7 separate regions of the Homo sapiens genome follow, and all the other regions are linked to region 3. Evidence: promoter capture Hi-C in human tissues and cell types (Jung and others, 2019). All regions are on one chromosome and are shown on one strand. The core of a region is centred on a gene start or on the middle of the fragment in contact, and the rest is flanking DNA. Distances in the headings are between cores, read along the strand shown.

What was found. The method cuts DNA at HindIII sites, captures the fragments that hold promoters and counts their contacts. A contact is called where the count stands out against the background at its distance.
Region 1: a fragment that was not itself captured here is called in contact with the fragment with the promoter of ZNF611 in region 3 in 1 of the 25 tissues and cell types used here (small bowel).
Region 2: a fragment that was not itself captured here is called in contact with the fragment with the promoter of ZNF611 in region 3 in 3 of the 25 tissues and cell types used here (hippocampus, liver and spleen).
Region 4: a contact is called between a fragment that was not itself captured here and the fragment with the promoter of ZNF611 in region 3, in 1 of the 25 tissues and cell types used here (lymphoblastoid cells).
Region 5: a fragment that was not itself captured here is called in contact with the fragment with the promoter of ZNF611 in region 3 in 2 of the 25 tissues and cell types used here (aorta and hippocampus).
Region 6: a fragment that was not itself captured here is called in contact with the fragment with the promoter of ZNF611 in region 3 in 1 of the 25 tissues and cell types used here (stomach).
Region 7: a contact is called between a fragment that was not itself captured here and the fragment with the promoter of ZNF611 in region 3, in 1 of the 25 tissues and cell types used here (stomach).

The regions. Positions count from the first base shown.
Region 1 is chr19:53,378,977-53,382,183 of GRCh38, forward strand. It overlaps ZNF525 (zinc finger protein 525), which reads left to right. Exons shown (of 4, transcript NM_001348156.2): 4 at 1,746-3,207. The coding sequence ends at 3,043. Among named protein-coding and RNA genes, the nearest start is that of ZNF765, 15 kb to the right of the region's middle. The HindIII fragment of the contact is 5,110 bases long and covers 1-3,207 here.
Region 2 is chr19:53,353,155-53,356,428 of GRCh38, forward strand. ZNF845 (zinc finger protein 845) reads left to right here. Exons shown (of 4, transcript NM_138374.3): 4 at 1-3,274. The coding sequence ends at 434. It also overlaps the pseudogene LOC107987264. Among named protein-coding and RNA genes, the nearest start is that of ZNF525, 11 kb to the right of the region's middle. The HindIII fragment of the contact is 6,579 bases long and covers 1-3,274 here.
Region 3 is chr19:52,733,304-52,736,555 of GRCh38, forward strand. It overlaps ZNF611 (zinc finger protein 611), which reads right to left and starts at 1,741. Exons shown (of 6, transcript NM_001161499.2): 1 at 1,698-1,741. LOC124904760 (a long non-coding RNA gene) reads left to right here and starts at 728. Exons shown (of 2, transcript XR_007067328.1): 1 at 728-1,157; 2 at 1,491-2,401. RefSeq lists enhancers at 1,729-2,714, 2,027-2,156 and a silencer at 1,777-1,846. The HindIII fragment of the contact is 18,911 bases long and covers 1-3,252 here.
Region 4 is chr19:52,125,569-52,128,768 of GRCh38, forward strand. The region is part of intron 2 of ZNF616 (zinc finger protein 616); the gene reads right to left. Among named protein-coding and RNA genes, the nearest start is that of ZNF616, 13 kb to the right of the region's middle. The HindIII fragment of the contact is 6,561 bases long and covers 1-3,200 here.
Region 5 is chr19:53,456,155-53,459,221 of GRCh38, forward strand. ZNF765-ZNF761 (ZNF765-ZNF761 readthrough) reads left to right here. Exons shown (of 13, transcript NM_001350496.2): 13 at 1-2,107. The coding sequence ends at 594. It overlaps ZNF761 (zinc finger protein 761), which reads left to right. Exons shown (of 5, transcript NM_001289951.2): 5 at 1-2,107. The coding sequence ends at 594. Among named protein-coding and RNA genes, the nearest start is that of ZNF813, 10 kb to the right of the region's middle. The HindIII fragment of the contact is 5,248 bases long and covers 1-3,067 here.
Region 6 is chr19:51,981,315-51,984,256 of GRCh38, forward strand. The region is part of intron 1 of ZNF350 (zinc finger protein 350); the gene reads right to left. ZNF350-AS1 (ZNF350 antisense RNA 1) reads left to right here. Exons shown (of 3, transcript NR_103847.1): 3 at 1-53. Among named protein-coding and RNA genes, the nearest start is that of ZNF350, 4.1 kb to the right of the region's middle. The HindIII fragment of the contact is 5,256 bases long and covers 1-2,942 here.
Region 7 is chr19:52,100,665-52,103,999 of GRCh38, forward strand. No RefSeq gene overlaps it. Among named protein-coding and RNA genes, the nearest start is that of ZNF841, 6.6 kb to the left of the region's middle. The HindIII fragment of the contact is 3,157 bases long and covers 1-2,987 here.

The DNA of each region.
Region 1 (3,207 bases), core at 658-3,157, 650 kb after region 3:
TTCTATGTTTTATATTTTATGCATAGTGAACTAGATACATAGGGCAATGTATATATATATATAGAATTGCTGTATTGCCTGGCTGTTTCATAAATGTAGTTGTGACATCATAATTGCACCCTCCGGCACTATTAGTCAATTCTTTTTTTTTTTCTTAGAGACGAAGTCTCACCCTGTCACTCAAGCTGGAGTGCAGTGGTGGGACCTTGGCTCACCACAAACTCTACCTCCTGGGTTCAAACGATTCTCTTGCCTCAGCCTTCTGAGTAGCTGAGATTACAGGCACCCGCCACCACACCCAGCTAATTTTTTTGTATTTTTAGTAGAGTTATGGTTTCACCACGTTGGCCAGGCTATTCTTGAACTCCTGACCTCATGGTCTTCCCACCTCGGCCTCCCAAAGTGCTGGAATTACAGGCATGAGCCACTGCACCCGGCTGTTAGTGAATTCTTATTCATTATAATGCTGCATATTTTTTTGACCTCATACATCAGAAGGTAGTGATCTTAACATGTATTTCAGTTCTTATATTGTGTGCTGGTGGTAAGTAGAAGTTGTGCTTTTTTCTTAACAGGGAATTGTTTAGAATTCTGCAGTTTGTATAAATGTACTTATGATTTGCTTGCTGGTTTTATGCGTTACAGTTATTTTACCAATTCATTTTTATGATTTTACATAAAGCTTTTCGGTATGTGGTATGCAATATAACTGACACAGTTTACTAGTTAATGTCACAAAGTGCCAGCGGGTGCTGTGGCTCACGCCTGCAATCCCAGGACTTTGGGAGGCTGAGGCGGGTGGATCACTTGAGGTCAAAAGTTCAAGGCCAGCCTGGCCAATATGATGTAACCCTATCTCTACTAAAAATACAAAAATTAGCCAAGCATGCTGGCATGTGCCTGTAATCCCATGTACTCAGGAGGCTGAGGCAGGAGAATGGCTTGAACCCAAAAGGTGGAGGTTGCAGTGAGCTGAGATCAGGCCATTGCCCTCCAGCCTGTTGTGACACAGTGAAACATTGTCTCAAAAATACAAAAATAAAAAAAAAATTTTAAATGTTACAATATGCCTTTTCTGCATGGATATAGGTAATTTTATGACAGTTATTCAGAAAAATATTTTTTTTTTTTTGAGATGGAGTCTCACTTTGTCATCCAGGCTGAAGTACAGTGGTGCGATCTCGGCTCACTGCAACCTCTGCCTCTTGGGTTCAAGCAATTCTTGTACCTCACCCTTGCGAGTAGCTGGGAGTACAGACGTGCACCACCATGCCTTGCTAAATTTTGTAAACTTTTCTTATCTTCTCAGTGCTATGATTATTTAACAATACAGAATTTCCATTGATTTTGGTTATCCTTACATGAGCTTGCTGTGGATTATTTACCAGTATATTATATTGTGTGGTCCTTTAGTATTTATTTGTATACAGTAAGTATGCTGTAAATATGAAGAATATATACTTTTCATTGATGTGACAGTGATATGTCTTTTGCAAACTGTTAGACACTTTAGGGTCACAGTGGAAAAATACTCCTTATTTTAGGCTTACACATGTTTGTGCCCTTCAGTGTTTTGTCATGATATTGGAAATAAGCTTTCATAATAATAATTTGAAGCACATGTAATCGCCCTTTATTTATTAAAGAATCTTACGATTTTGTGTTCCTAAACTTTGAAGATCATGTTTGGGAAGTTTAAAATCAGTATTGTCTTTTGTGTACCTATTAGTGTTTATATTTTGTAGGTATCTCTTCCAAATGCACAATGAAGGAGTTCTCATCAACAGCACAAGGCAATACAGAAGTGATCCACACAGGGACATTGCAAAGACATGAACGTCATCACATTGGAGATTTTTCCTTCCAGGAAATTGAGAAAGATATTCATAACTTTGAGTTTCAGTGGCAAGAAGATGAAAGAAATGGCCATGAAGCACCCATGACAAAAATCAAAAAATTGATGGGTAGTACAGAGCAATATGATCACAGGCATGCTGGAAACAAGCCTATTAAATATCAGCTTGGATCAAGCTTTCATTCACATCTGTCTGAACTCCACATATTTCAGCCCAAAGGGAAAATTAATAATCAAGTGGAGAAGTCTATCAACGATGCTTCCTCGGTTTCAACAGCCCAAAGAATTTCTTGTAGGCCCAAAACCCATATATCTAATAACTATGGGGATAATTTTCTGAATTATTCATTACTCACACAAAGACAGGAAGTACGCATGAGAGAAAAATCTTTCCAATGTATTGAGAGTGGCAAAGCCTTTAATTATAGCTCACTCTTAAGGAAACATCAGATTATTCATCTAGGAGAGAAACAATATAAATGTGATGTATGTGACAAGGTCTTTATTCGGAAGCGATACCTTGCACGCCATCGTAGATGTCACACTGGTGAGAAACCTTACAAGTGTAATGAGTGTGGCAAGTCCTTCAGTCAGATGTCATCCCTTACATATCATCATCGACTTCATACTGGAGAGAAACCTTACAAATGTGAAGAATGTGACAAAGCTTTCAGACACAATTCAGCCCTTCAAAGACATAGGAGAATTCATACTGGAGAGAAACCACATAAGTGTAATGAGTGTGGCAAGACCTTTAGTCAGAAGTCATACCTTGCATGCCATCGTAGCATTCATACTGGAAAGAAACCTTACGAATGTGAAGAATGTGACAAAGCTTTCAGTTTCAAATCAAACCTTGAAAGTCATAGGATAACTCATACTGGAGAGAAACCATACAAGTGTAATGATTGTGGCAAGACCTTCAGTCATATGTCAACCCTTACATGCCATCGTAGACTTCATACTGGAGAGAAACCTTACAAGTGTGAAGAATGTGATGAAGCTTTCCGTTTCAAATCAAGTCTTGAAAGACATAGGAGAATTCATAATGGAGAGAAACTGTACAAATGTAATGAGTGTGGCAAGACCTTCAGTCAGGAGTTATCCCTTACCTGCCATTGTAGACTTCATAGTGGAGAGAAACCTTGCAAGTGTGGAGAATGTGACAAGGCTTACAGTTTCAAATAAAATCTTGAAATACGTCAGAAAATTCATACTGGAGAGAAATGTTATAAGTGTAATGATTGTGGCAAGATCTTCAGTCATACGTCATCCATTGTATACCATCATAAATTTCATAGTGGAGAGAAACCTTACAAATGTGAAGAATGTGATGAAGCTTTCAGTTTCAA
Region 2 (3,274 bases), core at 318-2,817, 620 kb after region 3:
GAGAGAAACCTTACAAGTGTAATGAGTGTGGCAAGACCTTCCGTCACAATTCAGCCCTTGAAATTCATAAGGCAATTCATACTGGAGAAAAACCTTACAAGTGTAGTGAATGTGGCAAGGTTTTTAATAGAAAAGCAAACCTTTCACGTCATCATAGACTTCATACTGGAGAGAAACCTTACAAGTGTAATAAATGTGGTAAGGTTTTTAATCAACAAGCACACCTTGCATGTCATCATAGAATTCATACTGGAGAGAAACCTTACAAGTGTAATGAGTGTGGCAAAACCTTCCGTCACAATTCAGTCCTTGTAATTCATAAGACAATTCATACTGGAGAGAAACCTTACAAGTGTAATGAATGTGGCAAGGTTTTTAATCGAAAAGCAAAACTTGCACGTCATCATAGAATTCATACTGGAAAGAAACATTAGAAATATGAAGAATGTGACAAAGTTTACAGTTGTAAATCAAGTCTTGAAAGACAGGAGAATTCATACTGGAGAGAAAGCTTACAAATGTAAGAGTTTGTGACAAGAATCTTGGGCGTGATTCACACCTGGCCCAACAAACTAGAAGTCACACTGGAGAGAAACCTTACAAGTGTACTGAGTGTGGCAAAGCCTTTAGTGGGCAGTCAACACTTATTCACCATCAGGCAATCCATGGTATAGGGAAACTTTACTAATGTAATGATTATCACAAAGTCTTCAGTAACACTACAACCGTTTCAAATCATTGGAGAATCCATAATGAGAGATTTTGAAAGTGTAATAAATGTGGCAAATTTTTCAGACATTGTTCATACCTTGCAGTTCATCGGTGAACTCATGCTGGAGAGAAACCTTACAAATGTCATGATTGTGGCAAGGTCTTCAGTCTAGCTTCATCTTATGCAAAACAGGAGACTTCATACAGGAGACAAACTTCACAAGTATGATGATTGCAGCAAAGCCTTTACTTCACGTTCACACCTAATTAGACATCAGAGAATCCATACTGGACAGAAATCTTACAAATGTCATCAGTGTGGCAAGGTCTTCAGTCTGAGATCACCCCTTAAGGAACATCAGAAAATTCATTTTTGAGATGATTGTTCCAAATGCAATGAGTATAGCAAACCATCAAGCATTAATTGGCATTAGAGTCAATTCAGCATTGACTTGAGTTTGAATTGACTTAACATTGAGTTCAAGCATTAATTGACATTAAAGTGTTTATGTTAAGAAGATTGGGCCAGGCGGGGTGGCTCACGCCTGTAATCCCAGCACTTTGGGAGGCCAAGACCAATAGATCACTTGAGGTCAGGAGTTTGAGACCAGACTGGCCAACAGACATGAGTCACTTTTCCCACCCTGTATTTTGTTTCTTTAATAAAAACTGTTACGGGTTTTTATGGGTATCTGTTGAATCTAAATCACATTTGTTTGTATAATCATTCAACAATATTAAGACTTCCAATCCATCAATATGGGTTGTATGTCTATTTAGTTTTTTTGATCAATGTAGATTTCAAGGTACAAGCTTCTCACCTCCTTAATTCAGTTTATTTGTAAGTATTAAGTTTCATAGCAAATTGAAGTGTGTTCATAAGTTTCTTTAAACATTATTTATTGTTAATGTAAGGAAATTCAACTAATTTTGGGTGCTGATTTTGTATTCTGCAAATACATTGAGTGGGTTTATTAGTATCAGTAAAATCTTGGTTGATTCTTTGTGATTTTCTTTCTTTTTTTTTTGAGACAGTCTCACTCTGTTACCCAGGCTCTTTTCTTTTTTTTTGAGAAGGAGTCTCACTCTTGTCACTTGGACTGGAGTACAATGGCACGATCTTGGCTCACTGCAGCCTCTGCCTTTCGGGTTTAAGTGATTCTCCTGCCTACTAACTGAGATTACAGGTGCCTGCCACCATGTCCGTATAATTTTTTTGTATTTTTAGTAGAGACGGGGTTTCACCATGTTGACCAGGTTTTTCTTGAACTCCTGACTTCAGGTGATCCGCCCCCATCAGCATCCCAAAGTTCTGGGATTACAGGTGTGAGCCACCGCACCCAGCCAGTGATTTTCTATATAGAATGTCGTATCATCTACAAGGAAATAATTTTTTTTTTTGAGACAATGTCTCTCTCTGTCGCCAGGCTAGAGTGCCGTGGAATGATCTTTGCTCACTGCAACCTCTGTCTCCCACGTCCAAGCAATTCTGTCTCAGCCTCCTGAGTAGCTGGGACTACAGGCGCATGTCACCACACCTAGCTAATTTATTTATTTTTTTTATTTTAGTAAAGACGGGGTTTCACCATGTTGGCCCAGATGGTGGGCCAACATGGTGAGTACCTTGAAGAGAACTTGAAAGAATATGTTAGATCGCCTAACCTCATTATCCGCCCACTTCGGACTTGCAAATTGCTGGGATTATGGGTGTGAGCCATGAGCCCGGCCCCAACAAATGTAATTTTACTTCTGTCTTTCTGATTTGGATGAGTTTTATTTCTTTTGCTATTTAATTGCTCTGCCTAGGACAGCCAGTATTTATTGAATATCAGGGGTGAGAGCATTCTTGCATCATGTGATATCCTACAGGAAAACCATTCCATTTTCCTTCATTGGTTATTTCAGCTGTGGTCATTTCATGGATGATTTTTATATTTTTGAGGTAAAACTCTACCTATATTGTTTAGGATTTTTACGAAGAATGAATATTGAGTTCTGTGAAATGCTTTTTCTCTATCTATTGAGATAATGTGTTTTTTATCTGTCATTCTGTGCAAGTGTGTATCCCATTGATTTGAGTATGTTGAACCATCCTTGCATCCCATGAATAGGTAGCACTTGGATGTTTACAATCCCTTTTTATATCCTCTTGAATACAGTTTGCTAGTATAAGGGTCTTCAAGAAGTTCATGGAAAAATACATATTATGAAAAATTTGTGCATAAATTTCACACTTTTTGTACCAAAATAAACCAGTATAAACTTGTTATAACGTCTGAACAGGCTCTAGTTTGAGGCACTCAGAAGGATAAGACATCAGTTTGAAAAGAACCTCTATCACAGCAATACAAATTCTGTTAAAACAAGAAGAAACATCAAATTTACGATGAGACCAGACGCAGTGGCTCAGGCCTGTAATCCCAGCGGTTTTAGAGGCCCAGGCAGGTGGGTGACGTGAGCCTAGGGATTCAAGACCAGCCTGGGCGACATAGGGGACCTCTTCTCTGCTAAAAGTAAAAAAAGTCAGCCAGGTGTGGTGGTGCACTGCTGTGGTCCCAGCTAC
Region 3 (3,252 bases), core at 491-2,990:
CTTTTTTTTTGTTTGGAGACAAGGTCTCGCTCTGACGACCAGGCTGCAGTGTAGTCACATGATCTCAGCTCACTGCAGCCTGGACCTCCTGGGCTCAAGTCATCCTCCCAGCTTGGCCACCAGAGCAGCTGGGAGTACAGGTGCACACCATTATGCCCGGTTATTTACTTACTTTTTTGGCGGGGGGGAGGTCTCACTATGTTGCCCAAGCTGGTCTCGAACTCCTGGACTCAAGCAATCCCCTTGCCTCAGTCTCCTAAAGTGTGGAGACTACAGACTACAGGCGTGAGCCACTGTGTCCAGACCCTCTTTCTTCATTACTGTGCTTCCCTCCCTAATTCTGTACATATCTCTCATTCTCCCCTTCTCTCTCTAGCTCTTGTTTTCTTTTCTTTTTCCCTGGGATTCTGCTCTTCATTTTGTACCCCTCTCCTCTCCTGCTATTCATCCCCTTCTTCCCTTTATTCCTTCTCTTCCACCTCTTCTCCTCCATCCTCACAACTTATTTAACCTCTTATTGCTCCTTCTCCCCAATCTTTCAATCGTCCTCAATCTCCATCTATTTCTGCCTCTTCTCCCATCTCTGCGCCTCCTCTGCTCTCCCTGTTAAATTCCATCTTCCCCGATATACTCCCTTGTCCCCACTCTGTGTCTCCCCAGATCCCAGCTGTCCTCTCTGCTGTGGTTCTCCCTCTGTTCTCCTTGACACAAGCACCACTCTGCTCTGTCTGCCCTGGCTCCAAATCCTTCCCTCTCTCCCTCACTCTGATGAGTCTCCCTCTTTGCTGCCACTCCCCCTACCTTGTGATCCTTCATCTCTCTGTACATCTATCTAGCCTTTCTCTACATTTCTCCGGTTGCTTTTCTCCTCCTGCTTTCTTAGGTTTTTTTTTTTTTTTTTCACTTCTGCCATCTCTTGGCATATCCCTCACCAATCCTCTATTTTGCCATCTGTTATGGGCCTTTCTTATTCTTCTTTTCTCTGCCTCAGGTTTTCTACTGCTCTCTGTCTCCTGATTCCTTTGGCCCACACAATCGCAACACGGTTTGGAGTAAGACGCCTGCATCCCGGAGGAGCGCATTTTCCACGCCCTGGAGCTCCGCAGGCAAGAATACCCCGTGCCGCAGGACAGGCCCCTGGGACCTCCCCAGTGCAGGTTCAATGAAAGCGGTGACTGCGGAGGGGAGACCTGGGGAGCAGCAGGCCCCGGCATGAGGAGGAAGGTGCGGGGCGGGGGGGGGGGGCGCGACGGCGCCTTAGGACCAGGATGGGGTCTGCAGGATCCCAGGACCTGGCAGAGGACTCGGCCTCCCCGGGACTGGGGCTGCGGCGCGGCGCTCCCGGGGCTGAGGAGGGGGAGGCTGGGAGGCGCCCTGGGCAAGAATCCACATCGCGGGTGAAGACTTTAAAAAGCGCGGGGCGCGAGGAGTCAGAACAAGGTTTTCAGCAGGAAAACTACGCAACAGAAAGTGTATACATTGACCTATAGCAGAAAGACCGGGGACGAGACCAGCCTCAGGACGACTTTAAACCCAAAAGGAAGCGACCCTCGGGCTCTCACGGGGATGTCTCAATTTGCTCTGGGCAAAGGAAGACGCCGGAGAATTTCCAGGTCTGTGGGGACCCCACGTCCCAGGGACAGAAGCCCTGGGAACCTAGTTAGCGCAGACTTAATACAACACAGAGCAAAACTCACCGCGGCGATATGACCTACACTCCACCCGATCCGCTTCCGGGTTTGCGTTAATCTGCGCGCGCAGGACAAAAGCCAGGCCTGGGCGGGAAGTGGGAGGTAGGCGGGGCCTGGGCGAGGTAGGGGCGGGGCGCGAGGCGGAGAGACCTTGCCTTTTAGAACCGGCAGAGGGCAGGGCCGGGGCGGGATCTGCGCGTCTCTCAGCCTCGCTCCCAGCGTCTCTGTTTTCAGGTTTTGGAGGCGAGAGCGCCAGAAAGTCTGAGGCATGATACAAAAGCCCTGTTGAGAGAAGAGAGAGACCCTCTGACATTGTTTTATATTGTTTTATAGTCAGTAAAAACAACAGGAAGTAAAACCAAAGACAGGCAGCCCCGCGCCAGGCCCGAAACCAGGCCTGGATCCGCCTGGCCTAAACCCAGTAGTTAAAAATCAACTTATGATTTAGAAGCTGATGTTAGGCATAGATTCCAGACATTGTATAGAAGAACACGGTGAAACTCCTGCCCTGTTCTCTCTCTCCCTGATCACCGGTGCATGCAGCCCCTGTCACGTATCCCTTGCTTGCTCAATCAGTCACTATCCTTTCATCTGAAATCTTTAGTGTTGTGAGCCCTTAAAAGGGACAGAAATTGTGCACTCGGGGAGCTTGGATTTTAAGGCAGTAGCTTGCCAATGCTCCCAGCTGAATAAAGCCCTTCCTTCTACAACTCGGTGTCTGAGAGGTTTTGTCTGCGACTCGTCCTGCTACACTGTAATTGTCTGGAACAGGGATACAAACTAGAATGTGAAATGCAAAGCCCTGCCTGGGCGGTATGTACCATGTCATGCTGAGGTCCCACAGAACAGATAGATATCCTCTCCCTTTCTATTGTCCATTCACTCCGGAAGGAGACTCCGCCCTGTGCTCAGCTTCAGAGACTTCCCTGAAGCCACCGCCTGGAATGCCGGACGGAGTGCTCAGGCCGAGAAGGAGTGAGGTCACCACCTGCTGCTTAAAGACAGCAGAGGCGCGGGGGCGGGAGCCTGAGGTCCCAGCTACTCAGGAAGCAGCGGCGGGAGGATCCCTGAGCCTCGGGTTCCAAGCCAGCCTGAGCGACAAAATAACGCCCACTGCCGCGGTCTCCCTTTCTTGTCTCTCTCTCTCTCTTTTTTTTTAAAAAAAACTTTCGCAAATAAAATTTTTGATTGTGTGACATAGGGATCCAACATTATTCTTTTCCATGTGGATATCCAGATAGTTGTCCTAGCACATTTATGGAAGAGATCTATTACTTTCTTGTATTATTATTATTATTATTATTATTATTATTATTATTTTTGAGACAGAGTATTTCTCTGTTGCCCAGGCTGGAGTGCAGTGGCGAGATCTCGACTAAATGCATCCTCTGCCTCCTGGGTTCAAGCGATTCTCCTGCCCCAGCCTTGGGAACAGCTGGCATTACAGGCGTGCGCCACCATGCCAGGCTAATTTTTGTATTTTTAGTAGAGACGGGGTTGACCATGTTGACCAGGCCGGTATCGGACTCCTCACTCCAAGTTATTTGCCTGCCTCAGCCTC
Region 4 (3,200 bases), core at 4-2,503, 610 kb before region 3:
TTAGTTTTGTTGGGATCACCCACATGGAACTTCTCACAGGCTGTGGTTTCCCGAGCTGGGATCACATACTGGTGACTCTACAGTTCTGGGGTCTCAGGCGTGGTCCTGCTTCCAGGGCTCCCCTTGACCTTGCCCTAATAAGCACTCTCTAAGGTGTCCCTGCCTCCATGGCTAGGCTGAGAATTGCCTTAGTGGTGACCTCCTGTGGTAGCACTGAAAGGAACAGGATGAAAGGTTAGGGGCCACTGAGCAAAAAGATAACTGACGTAAACCGGTGTCTGCAATAACACAGAAAGACATGAGGGTGAAGATCTAGTACCACAGATATCTGCAGTACCAGAGTCTATCCACAATAGTACAGAAAATAGGGGAGCTTCTGAGTAGAAAGCAGCAAACCTCTTCAATAGGGAGATGACAAGCAAAGGCCCAGAGAAAAAGCATGGGAAGTCTCCAGAATCTAGGGTAGTTGATTGGAATGTCCTCCCTGAACAAAGCAGCCACCAAATCTGGGCAGGCAGCTGATTTTTTCAAATGCTGAAGTCACAAAAGAAGACAATAAAACATACAAAGAAACAGGGAAATACGGTCTACAAAAAGAAACCAACTGAATCTGTACAAACCTACATGAAAGAAATGGCAATTTACATCTTGGCTTTGAAGAATTAAAAAGAAATGTGGGCCGGGCATGATTGCTCACAACTGTAATCCCAGGACTTTCAGAACGCCAGGCAGGAAGATCACTTCAGAGCAGGAATTCGAGACCAGCCTGGCCAACATTATGAAACCCCATCTCTACTAAAAATACAAAAATTAGCCAGGCATGGTGGCACATGCCTGTAATCTGAGGCTGAGGCATGAGAATTGCTTGAACAGGAGGCAGAGGTTGCAGTGAGCTGAGATCCCACCCCTGCACTCCAGCCTCGGCAATAGAGTGTGACTCTGTCTCCAAAAATAAAGAAAATGCGAAGGTAGGCAGATCACCTGAGGTCAGGAGTTTAAGACCAGCCTGGCCAACACGGTGAAACCCCGTCTCTACTAAAAATACAAAAATTAGCCAGGTGTGGTGGCACGTGCCTGTAGTCCCAGCTACTCAGGGAGACTGAGGCAGGACAATTGCCCGAACCCAGGAGGCAGAGGTTGCAGTGAGTCGAGATCATGCCACTGCACTCCAGCCTGGGCGACAGAGCGAGACTCCATCTCAAAAAATAAATAATAAATAATTAAATAAAATAAAGAAAATGAAGAGAGTCTAATGGGCCCATGAAAAACCATCAAGCACCAAGAACATATGCATTCTGGGAGTCCAACAAATAATGTGAATATATCTAACATTACTGAACTTTACATAAGCAAACAAGCTTTAATGAAAGACATAATAAAGATATTATCAAAGACTGACAAACTCGATTCTTTTTGGAAGACATGGTGACATAAAGGCCTGCAACTGAAAAAATTCAGAGCCATGAAAACACAAACAAAATATGTGGGAATTTTTTTTTTTTTTAGAAGACAGAGTCTCACTGTCACCCAGGCAGGAGTGCAGTGGCACGATCTCAGCTCACTGCAACCTCCACCTCCCAAGTTCAAGGGATTCTCCTGCCTCGGCCTCCCAGGTAGCTAAGATTAAAGACGTGCACCATCATGTCCGGCTAATATTTGTATTTTCAGTAGAGACAGGGTTTCACCATGTTGGCCAGGCTGGTCTTGAACTCCTGACCTCAGGTGATCCACCCACCTTGGCCTCCCAAAGTGCCTGGATTACAGGTGTGAGCCACCACACCCGGCCAATATGTGGAATTTAAATAATATGTGGCTGTGTTGTGTAAAAGGAGAACCATAATAATTTTGGAAAGAAAATGGAGGGGTTTGCCAATCTACTTGTGAACCTATTATGTTATTTATAATCTAAAACTTTATAATCAAATATAATCTACAACAAGATATACAGAAAAATTCAAATTAAAGATTCAAGCAAATAAAATGTAAGCAACAAAATATTAGATCTTAAAAAAACACAGTATTTTATAATCACACAGCGAGCCAGGCCTTCCAAAGAAAGATCAGTTATTTATTTTTGCTTTTGTGGTATAGCGTCCTAACAGAAGCAACCACTCTTTAAACTGTCCAACCTGAAGGAACCCTCAAACACCTGTGGTGAAGAGAGCATTGTGGCAGCCATGGTGAAAAATTATAAAAGATCCATATGTCTTCATTTAGAGATTGTTCCAAAGAGGATGCAAAACAAGCTATTACTGCTTATTAACAAAAAAAGATGTATCTTTGAAAAACTGGCACAATGAAATTTCACAACAGAACATGTACTGAAGAATTGTTTTCTAAAATCTCATAATGACACGTAAATGCATCTTGACACCTCTCACTGACTCTTGCCACAGAACTTACAACTGTAGCTCCCCACGGAAACATGAGGGATGATGGAGAAAGTGACAGGGAAAAGAAACCCGGGTTCCTCCAGGTTGGGTAACTGAAAGAGTGATTGCCTCTTTAGGATGGTGCATTTCCTATTTTCCTGGATCTGGCAAGATTTCCCACTACCCTAAGGTGCAATGGTGTCCTCATACACCAACGACACATATTGGGTGGATTTCCCACCCAATAAAAAAAAAAAAAAAAAACTTACTACTATGTTCTGTTTACATTTTGAGGCTATGGGGAAAATGAAAACCCTTCGTATTTCCATTTTCCAATTCCTTGGACTGTGAGGAGGTTTCATTATTTTGTGGAAATCAAACCAAAATAATTTTCATTCTTTGCTCAGTTTTCCTTTACTGCATTCTAGGAGCCATTTCATATTCTGTAGTTAAATTTTTAAAATATATATGCCTTGATGTCCTTTTCTTAGGTTATAAATTTCTTTCTGTGTAAAACTAAAGCTGGGCACGGTGGCTCATGCCTGTAATCCCAGCATTTTGGGAGGCCAAAGCGGGTGGATCACCTGAGGCCGGAAGTTTGAGACCAGCCTGACCAACATAGAGAAACTCTGTCTCTACTAAAAATACAAAATTAGCCAGGCACGGTGGTGCATGCCTGTGGTCCCAGCTACTCAAGAGGCTTAGGCAGAAGAATCGCTTGAACCTGGGAGGCGGAGGCTGCAGTGAGCCAAGATTGCGCCATTGCACTCCAGCCTGGGCAACAAGACGAAACTCCGTCTCAAAAAAAAAAAAAAAAGCTAAAATGTT
Region 5 (3,067 bases), core at 1-2,500, 720 kb after region 3:
TACAAGTGTAAGGAGTGTGGCAAGACCTTCAATCAGCAGTTAACCCTTAAACGCCATCGTAGACTTCATAGTGGAGAGAACCCTTACAAATGTGAAGATAGTGACAAAGCTTACAGTTTCAAATCAAACCTTGAAATACATCAGAAAATTCATACTGAAGAGAATCCTTACAAGTGTAATGAGTGTGGCAAGACCTTCAGTCGGACGTCATCCCTTACATGCCATCGTAGACTTCATACCGGAGAGAAACCTTACAAATGTGAAGAATGTGACAAAGCTTTCCGTGTGAAATCAAACCTTGAAGGACATAGGAGAATTCATACTGGAGAGAAACCTTACAAGTGTAATGAGTGTGGCAAGACCTTTAGTCGGAAGTCATATTTTATATGCCATCATAGACTTCATACTGGAGAGAAACCTTATAAGTGTAATGAGTGTGGCAAGAACTTTAGTCAGAAGTCATCCCTTATATGCCACCATAGACTTCATACTGGAGAGAAACCTTACAAGTGTAATGAGTGTGGCAAGACCTTTAGTCAGAAGTCAAACCTTACATGCCATCGTAGACTTCATACTGGAGAAAAACAAGTGTAATGAATGTGGTGAGGTTTTTAATCAACAAGCACACCTTGCAGGTCATCATAGAATTCATACTGGGGAGAAACCTTAGAAATGTGAAGCATGTGATAAAGTTTACAGTGGCAAATCAAGCCTCAGAAGACAGGAGAATTCATACTGGAGAGAAAGCTTATAAATGTGAAGAATGTCACAAAGTTTACAGTCGCACATCAAACCGTGAAAGACAGGAGAATTCATACTGGAGAGAAACCATAAAAATGTAAGAGTTTGTGACAAGGCTTTTGGGCATGATTCGCACCTGGCACAACATGCTAGAATTCACACTGGAGAGAAACCTTACCAGTGTAATGAGTGTGGCAAAGCCTTTAGTAGGCAGTCAACACTTGTTTACCGTCAGGCAATCCATGGTGTAGGGAAACTTTACTAAGGTAATGATTGTCACAAAGTCTTCAGTAATGCTACAACCATTGTGAATCACTGGAGAATCCATAAGGAAGAGAGATCATACTAGGGTAATAAATGTGGCAGATTTTTCAGACATTGTTCATACCTTGCAGTTCATCGGTGAACTCAACGCTGGAGAGAAACCTTACAAATGTCATGACTGTGGCAAGGTCTTCAGTCAAGCTTCATCCTATGCAAAACATAGGAGAATTCATACAGGAGAGAAACCTCACATGTGTGATGATAGTGGCAAAGCCTTCACTTCACACCTCATGAGACATCAGAGAATGCATACTGGACAGAAATCTTACAAATGTCATCAATGTGCCAAGGTCTTCAGTCTGAGTTCACTCCTTGCAGAATATGAGAAAATTCATTTTGGAGGTAGTTGGTCCATATGCAATGAGTAGAGCAAACCATCAAGCATTAATTGACATTAGGGTCAATTCAGCATTGACTTGAGTTTGTATTGACTTAACATTGAGTTCAAGCATTAATTGACATTAGTGTTTATGTTAAGAGGATTGGGCCAGGCACATCAGCTTACACCTGTAATCTGAGCGCTTTGGGAGGCCAAGGTGGGTAGATCACTTGAGGTCAGGAGTTTGAGATCAGCCTGGCCAACAGACGTGAGCCATTTTCCCAGCCTGTTTTTTGTTTCTTTAAAAAAACTGATAGGGATTTTTATGGATATCATGTTGAATCTAAATCACATTGGGTTATTATATAATCATTTCACAATATTAATTTTTCCAAGCTATCAATATGGGTTGTAGCTCAATGTTTTTAATCATTTTGATCAATGTTTGTAGATTTCAAGGTACAAACTTCTGACCTTTGTACGTTTATTTCTAAGTATTTCTTTAAGTTCTCCAGCAAATGGAAGTGTTTTAAAATTTTCTTTTAAAATTGTTTATTGTTAAAGTATGGAAATTCAACTAATTTTTGGTGCTGATACTGTATTGTGCAAATCCACTGACTATGTTACTTAGTTCCAGTAGTATTTTGGTTGGCTCTTTGTGATTTTCTACACAGAAGATTATGTCATCTACAAACAAATATAATTTTACTTCTTACTTTCTGATTTGGATGAGTTTTATTTCCTCTGCTATTTCATTGCTCTGGCTGGGACAGCCAGTATTGATTGAATAGAAGGGGTGAGAGCATTCTTGCATCATGTGAGAGCCTCCAGGAAAGGCATTACATTTTCCCTGCTTGACTGTTTACTCATTGGTCATTTCATGGACGGTCTTTCTATTGTTGAGGTAAATTTCCTTTTCTGTCTATTTTGTTTAGGATTTCTATGATGACTGGATTTTGAATTTTGTGAAATGCTTTTTCTCTATTAAGATGATGTGGTTTTCATCTTTTGTTCTGTTCAAGTGGTATATCACATTGATTTGCTTGAATATGTTGAACCATCCTTGCATCCCAGAAATAAGTGGCACTTGAATATCTACATTTTTTTAATGTCCTCTTGAATACAGTTTTCTAGTACAATGGATCTTGAAGAAGTTCATGGAAAAATACCTATTATGAGAAAATTTGCATGAATTTTAGTTTTTGCAACAAAACACTGGTACAAGTCTGTTATGTCTGAACAGGCTGTAGTTTAAGGCACTCAGAAGGATAAGACATGAGTTTGAAAAGAGACTCTATCAAAGCAATATAAATTCTGCTAAAATTGAAACAAGAAGAAACATCAAATTTACGATGAGATCAGATGCAGTGTCTCAGGTCTATAATCCCAGCACTTTCAGAGGCCATGACAGGTGGGTCACATGAGCCCAGGTATTCAAGACGAGCCTGGGCAACATGGTGAAACCCCCTTGTCTACAAAAAATACAAAAATTAGCTGGGCATGGTGGCATCTGACTGCAGGGCCAGCTACTGTGGAGTCTGTGGTGGAGGATGGCTTGAGCCTGGGAGGTCGAGGCTGCAGTGAGCTGTGGTCATGCCACTGCACTCCAGCGTGGGTGATGGAGTGAGATACTGTCTCAATAAAAGAATAATTATGGGCCGGGCGGCGTGGCTCAATCCTGTA
Region 6 (2,942 bases), core at 273-2,772, 750 kb before region 3:
GGGCCCTTGTCCACTAGAGGTAAGGTGCTCCCTGACCCCTTCTCCCAAATATACTCTTTTGTCTCCTGTCTTTATTCCCACGTTCACCCCCATTTGTGCAGTCCCATGGGTCCATGTGGGTTACGGCCCGCCACCGCGCCTGGCTGATTTTTGTATTTTTAGTAGAGATCGGATTTCAGCATCTTGGTCAGGCTGGCCTTCAACTCCGGATCTCATCACACACCCGCCTCAGCCTCCCCACATGCGGTTATTATAGTTGATATGTCTGAACCAAAATGATATGGGAAGCTTGAGAATAAAAGGTTGGAGACAATATGCCACAGAGAGAGTAACCAAAGATAATCTGTTATAACTATATCTCAGACAAAACTGACCAGAAATCCTAAAGAATTAACAGAGAGAAAGAGAAACAATGCTCACTGAAAAGAGGTGAAATTTGGCTCTTCATTCATAGAAATACACCATATGTATACCCCTAACAACAGTCTTGAAATGTATACAGCAAAAAATAGAACCAAAAACAAGAAATAGAAAATTCAGACTAAAGACTTTAACAGACCTTTCCTAGTAACTGACAGAACAGACCATCAACAAACAAAATAAAATTTATAAATGAGAAAGAAATGAATCTTTTATCTGAGGAATGTGACTCCCTTTAAATTATCAGGTCTAGAGAGGCATTAAAATGTGACAGCAGTCTTTCTGATAGGGGTTCCCCTGAAAAAAAGAAAAAAGAAAAAATTAAAAACTAAAAAAAAAATTTAATGTGACAATAGTCACATCTCATTTCCCCCTCAAGCTAAATAATTATCTCTTAAAGCCACTTGCTATGTAGGCTCTAGACTAACTCACACTGAGTAGCCATAAAATGCCATTCACTGGACATCCTAACTCATAAAACCCCATAGTTAACAATGTACAGCCAATTGTTAATTGATATTATTTCTGTAAACCAATGAGAATTCTTGCCAAACAACTTTATGTCAGCTCACGGTTTGTTCCCTTTTGACTTTAAAACCTGTTTCTAACAAAATCCTAACAGAGCACTTAACCAAGGCAACCTGAAAGTATTTTCCCAGGCAGCTGTCCTCATTTTGGCTCAAGTAAACTCTTTAAAATTGTATTTTGTGCAGTTTCCTCTTTTAGGCTGACATAAACGATATCATTTAGAAGAACTCGAATATATTTTTAAAATTAGATTTACTGAGATAAATTTTAACAGTTTTAAATAAATGCAAAGATGTACTATAAAGATGGGCTGGAAAACAAAGCATTTTAAAAATGTCAAGTCTCCCAAATCTACAGATTCAATGAAATCACAGTCACAATCCCAAACTGATACTGAAAAGTTTAAATAGCTATAAACTTTTTTTTAAAGTTTGAAAAAAAAGTTAGAAGACTTGCCATATCAGTTATGAGGACTTATAAAGCTACTTTAATTAGGACAGCACAATATTAGTACAATAACAGGCAAATAGGACAAAGGAACAGAATAAAATCCTTATAAGCAGAATTAAGCACATATAGAGACTCAATGGCAATGATAGCACTACAGGGAAGTAGATAAAAGCTGTCTTTTCAATAAATGGAACTAAGGGCGCCGTGGCTCACGCCTGTAATCCTAGCACTTTGGGAAGCTGAGGAAGGTGTGGGGGAAAGAGAGATCAGACTGTTACTGTGTCTATATAGAAAGAGGAAGACATAAGAAACTCCATTTTAATCTGTACAAAGAAAAGTTCCTCTGTCTTGAGATACTGTTAATCTGTAACCCTAGCCCCAACCCTGTGCTCAGAAACGTGTGCTGTGTTGGCTCAAGGTTTAATGGATTTAGGGCTGTGCAGGACGTGCTTTGTTAAAATGTGTTTGCAGGCAGTATGCTTGGTAAAAGTCATCACCATTCTCCAGTCTCAAGTACCCAGGGACACAATGCACTGCGGAAGGCCGCAGGGACCTCTGCCCAAGAAAGCCTGGGTATTGTCCAAGGTTTCCTCCCACTGATACAGCCTGAGATATGGTCTCGTGGGAAGGGAAAAACCTGACCATCTCCCAGCCCAACACTCGTAAAGGGTCTGTGCTGAGGAGGATTAGTGAAAGAGGAAGACCTCTTTACAGTTAAAATAAGAGAAAGCCATCTGTCTCCTGCTCCTCCCTGGGAATGGAATGTCCCGGTATAAAACCCAATCATACATTCTATTTACTAAGATAGGAGAAAACCACCTTATAACTAAAGGTGAGACATACTGGCGGCAATACTACTCTTTACTACACTAAGATGTCTGTGTAAAGTCAAACATAAATCTGGCCTACGTACACATCAAGGCACAGGACCTTTCCTTAAACTTATTTATAACACAGAGTCCTTTACTCACATGTTTTCCTACTGACCCTCTCCCCACCATTACCCTATAGTCCTGCCACACCCCCCTCACCAAGATGGTAAAAATAGTAATCAATAAATACTAACAAAACTCAGAGACCAGTGCCGGTGTGGGTCCCCCATATGCTGAACACCAGTCCCCTGGGCCCACTTTTCTTCCTCTGTACTTTCTCTCTGTGTCTGATTTCTTTTCTCAGTCTCTCATTTCCACCTTGCAAAAAATACCCACAGGTGTGGAGGGGCAGGCCCCCTTCAGGCAGGTGGACCACTTGAGCCAGAGTTGGAGACCAGCCTGGCCATCATGGTGAAACCCCATCTCTACTAAAAATACAAAAATTAGCCAGGCAAGGTGGCACCTGCTGGTAATTCCAGCTACTCGGGAGGCCGTGGCACAAGAATCACTTGAGCCCAGAAGGCAGAGGTTGCAGTTGAGCCAAGCACGCCACTACACTCCAGCCTGGGCGACGAGAGCAAGACTCTATCTAAAAAAATTAAAAAAAAAAAAAAAAATCAATAAATGGTACTGGGGATGGGGACAGAAAGTTAAAACCCCCCTCACAACATA
Region 7 (3,335 bases), core at 159-2,658, 630 kb before region 3:
TTCAACACTGAATGTTTACTTTTGAAACTCCTGACGTTTAAGTTGATAAAAACTCAATTTTCCCCATGCTAAAAACTTTATACATGTCCTTTCTTCATGCATACATAGAACCCTTCACACAATATAATTGTTGGAAGTGTTTCTGAAATACTGTTTAGACAAATTACCTATATTTTTACACCTGTACTATAAAATTAATATCTAACAGACAATAAATATTAAATTATTTAATAGAAGAATTATTTTTCAAAGGCTAATGATTTCACAGCTGTAGCAAAACTTTTTTCTTTTTTTTTTTGAGATGAGGTCTCACTCTGTTGCCCAGGCTGCAGTGCAGCGATGTAATCACACCCCACAGCAGCCTCCACCTCCCCAGGCTCAGGCAATACCCCAACCTCAGTTTTTGTATTTTTAGTAGAGATGGGGTTTCACCATGTTGCCCAAACTAGTCTAAAACTCCTAGGTTCAAGCGATCTCCCCACCCCCACATTCTAAAGTGCTGGCATTGCAGGCGTGAACCACTGTGCCTGGCCAAAATGTAATTTTAAAAATAATTTTTAAAATCATTATACAATTTCCTAGAAACGATTTAATCCAATTTAAAGATTTACATTTCTTTCCTTGTACTTCAGTGAAAAACTTATAGGATTAGTAAATCAAGGTGGTATTTTCAGATTTGTATGGCAAAAAAATATGCGGAGACCTGACAGATGTAAAGGATGTATTCTATCAATATATGGAGGGTCCCTTACATTTTAAGTTCAGTGAAAGAACTGGAATGATACAAGATAATGAACTAAAATTGTATAATGTAAAAGCAAGAGCTCTGTTGCTAATGTACAGCTGTATCAGTTGGATTTTTAAAAACCCAACATACTAATTTGGCAGGGTGCGGTGGCTCATACCTGTAATCCCAACACTTTGCGAGGCCAAGGTGGATGGATCACTTGAAGTCAGGATTTCGAGACCAGCCTGATCAACATGGTGAAACCCCATCTCTACAAAAAAATACAAAAATTAGCTGGATTTGGTGGCATGCACCTGTAGTCCCAGCTACTTGGGAAGCTGAGGTAGGAGAATTACCTGAGCCCAGGAGGTGGAGGTTGCAGTGTGCTGAGACTGTGCCACTGCACTCCAACCTGGGTGACAAAGCAAGATCCTGTCTCAAAATATTATAACATGTGACAGTGCAGCTTCCAGCAGAAATAATCTGTTCCTCTTTTGCTCACACCAAATATTCACCCCCACTTCTAAAAAATATAAAAGAATAAGCCAAAATGTAACTTCAAGTCACAAGCAAGGATCTCATGACAGTCTCATGAGACTTCTTTTCATTGAGAGCCCAGTAGAGTTCTCCTCACTCACAACACTTCATTGTGGAACAGAAAAATGAAACCTGAATAAACCCTCCCATCCAGAAAAGGAAAATAAAGAAGGTACCCCGTAGTTTCTGTTTCACAGCAAATGTGCAATGTTGCTGAGAAGATGAGTCAGGGACTGATTCCACAAGGTCAAGAATGAACAACAGTCCTTTTCATGGCTACAGTTCTCCTGAGAATGTTTCCAGTCCATTGTGATTTGTTGTTCTTGACTTCACCTGATGACATCCCTAATACAGTATCAGAAAGTATGCCTTCCTTGTGCAGTAAGCACCTTTCTCCAGCTACTTCTATTTATTTATTTATTTATTTATTTATTTATTTATTTATTTATTTATTTTTAAGACAGGCTCTGTTGCCCAGGCTGGAGTGCAGTGGCACTATCTCGGCTCACTGCAACCTTCACCTCCCAGATTCAAGTGATCCTCCTGCCTCAGCCTCCAGAGTACCCAGCTACTTCATTCCCACAAAAATTTACCATCCAAAGGATTATTATAAATCTATATTTAGTTTTGTTTTTAGAAAATACTATGGACTGGTAGAAGTCTCAAAATACAACACGACTAAAAATACAGAAATTAGCCAGGCATGACAGTGTGCATCTGTAATCCCAGCTACTCTGAAGGCTGAGGCAGGAGAATCACTTGAGCCCAGGAGATGGAGGTTGCAGTGAGCTAAGATTCAGCTATTGCACTCCAGCCTGAGCCACAGAGAGAGACTCTGTCTCAAAAATAAATAAATAAATATTTTTGGTAGGAAAGCTTAAAGAAAAATAATTCTATATGAGAAAGAATCTTGTATCAGAAATTTTGTCCTGGAATAAAATGACTGATTGTATAAGAAAGATGAATGTTCAGGAAAAACAAGAAATCCCACACATGTCATGAATGGTCTGTGTAAGTCATAATAAGATTGATGAAAAAAAGTTTTATGTGATCAAATTCACTATAATTAAAGGGAAATTATAATGGTCTTTCTAGAGATTGGGTTTTGATTTTAAAAAACACCACTTATACACTAAAGAATTGGTTCAAACTACAAAATTTTGTTAAGCGGTGCTTTAAATAAATTATGAAACATAATTTATTCAATGTAAAGTTCAAGTTTTATGGAATCTCACTGTTTTCAGCTTTCTCTCCCCTCTTAAAAGGCCTGAAATCATAACTTTTTCACCTAATTTTCAGCTCCTGTAGCCTTTTTTTCTTTGGGTTCTAACTGTTGTGGCCTGACACTATAAAATGTTTTATTTTTGAGGTCTAAAGGAAATGTTTCTTTCCAAACATAATATCTCCCATAGGGAACAGCAGTCACACTGTAGAAGGGCTTTTCTTTTGCCTTTGGAAAACTGGCCTACTAAACAGATCTCACACTTTATCAAAGTAATTCCTGTGTCAGTATTACTAAGTTTGGTTTGGTTACAAGGAAATTTAAATTAAATTTTTTTAAATTAAGTTTATTATGTCCATATAACTTTCCGTATATGCTTTTAGGTCCCTGTTCCATTCAGTTAAAGGGCTTTGACTCCTGGGTCTAAAAAGGACACCAAGTCTTGCTAAATCTTAAACACTGACAGCAGTTCAAGCCTCATCTTCAGACCCAGTAGAAGTTCCTAATCAAAATAAACTGTGTTTGTGAAACACAGGGCAAGAAATTAAAACTATTCAACTCCTCAAGTACCAGTGGTTATACTGAAAGAAGTGGACATGTGAGATTGTCAGGGTCAATTTTTAGAGCTGAAATAAGTTTGGTTTCTCTAGAAATTAACTATCAATTTCAAAGGCAAATTGTTGCAAGACCAGCATATGAGCCCCTGCGTCAGATTAACAAGGTTGTCTTGGAGCATTAGCCCACCTTTTTTTTATTCTGGAGATGGAGTCTCACTCTGTTGCCGAGGCTGGAGTGCAATAGTGCGATCTGGGCTCACTGCAACCTCCACCTCATGGGTTCAAGTGATTC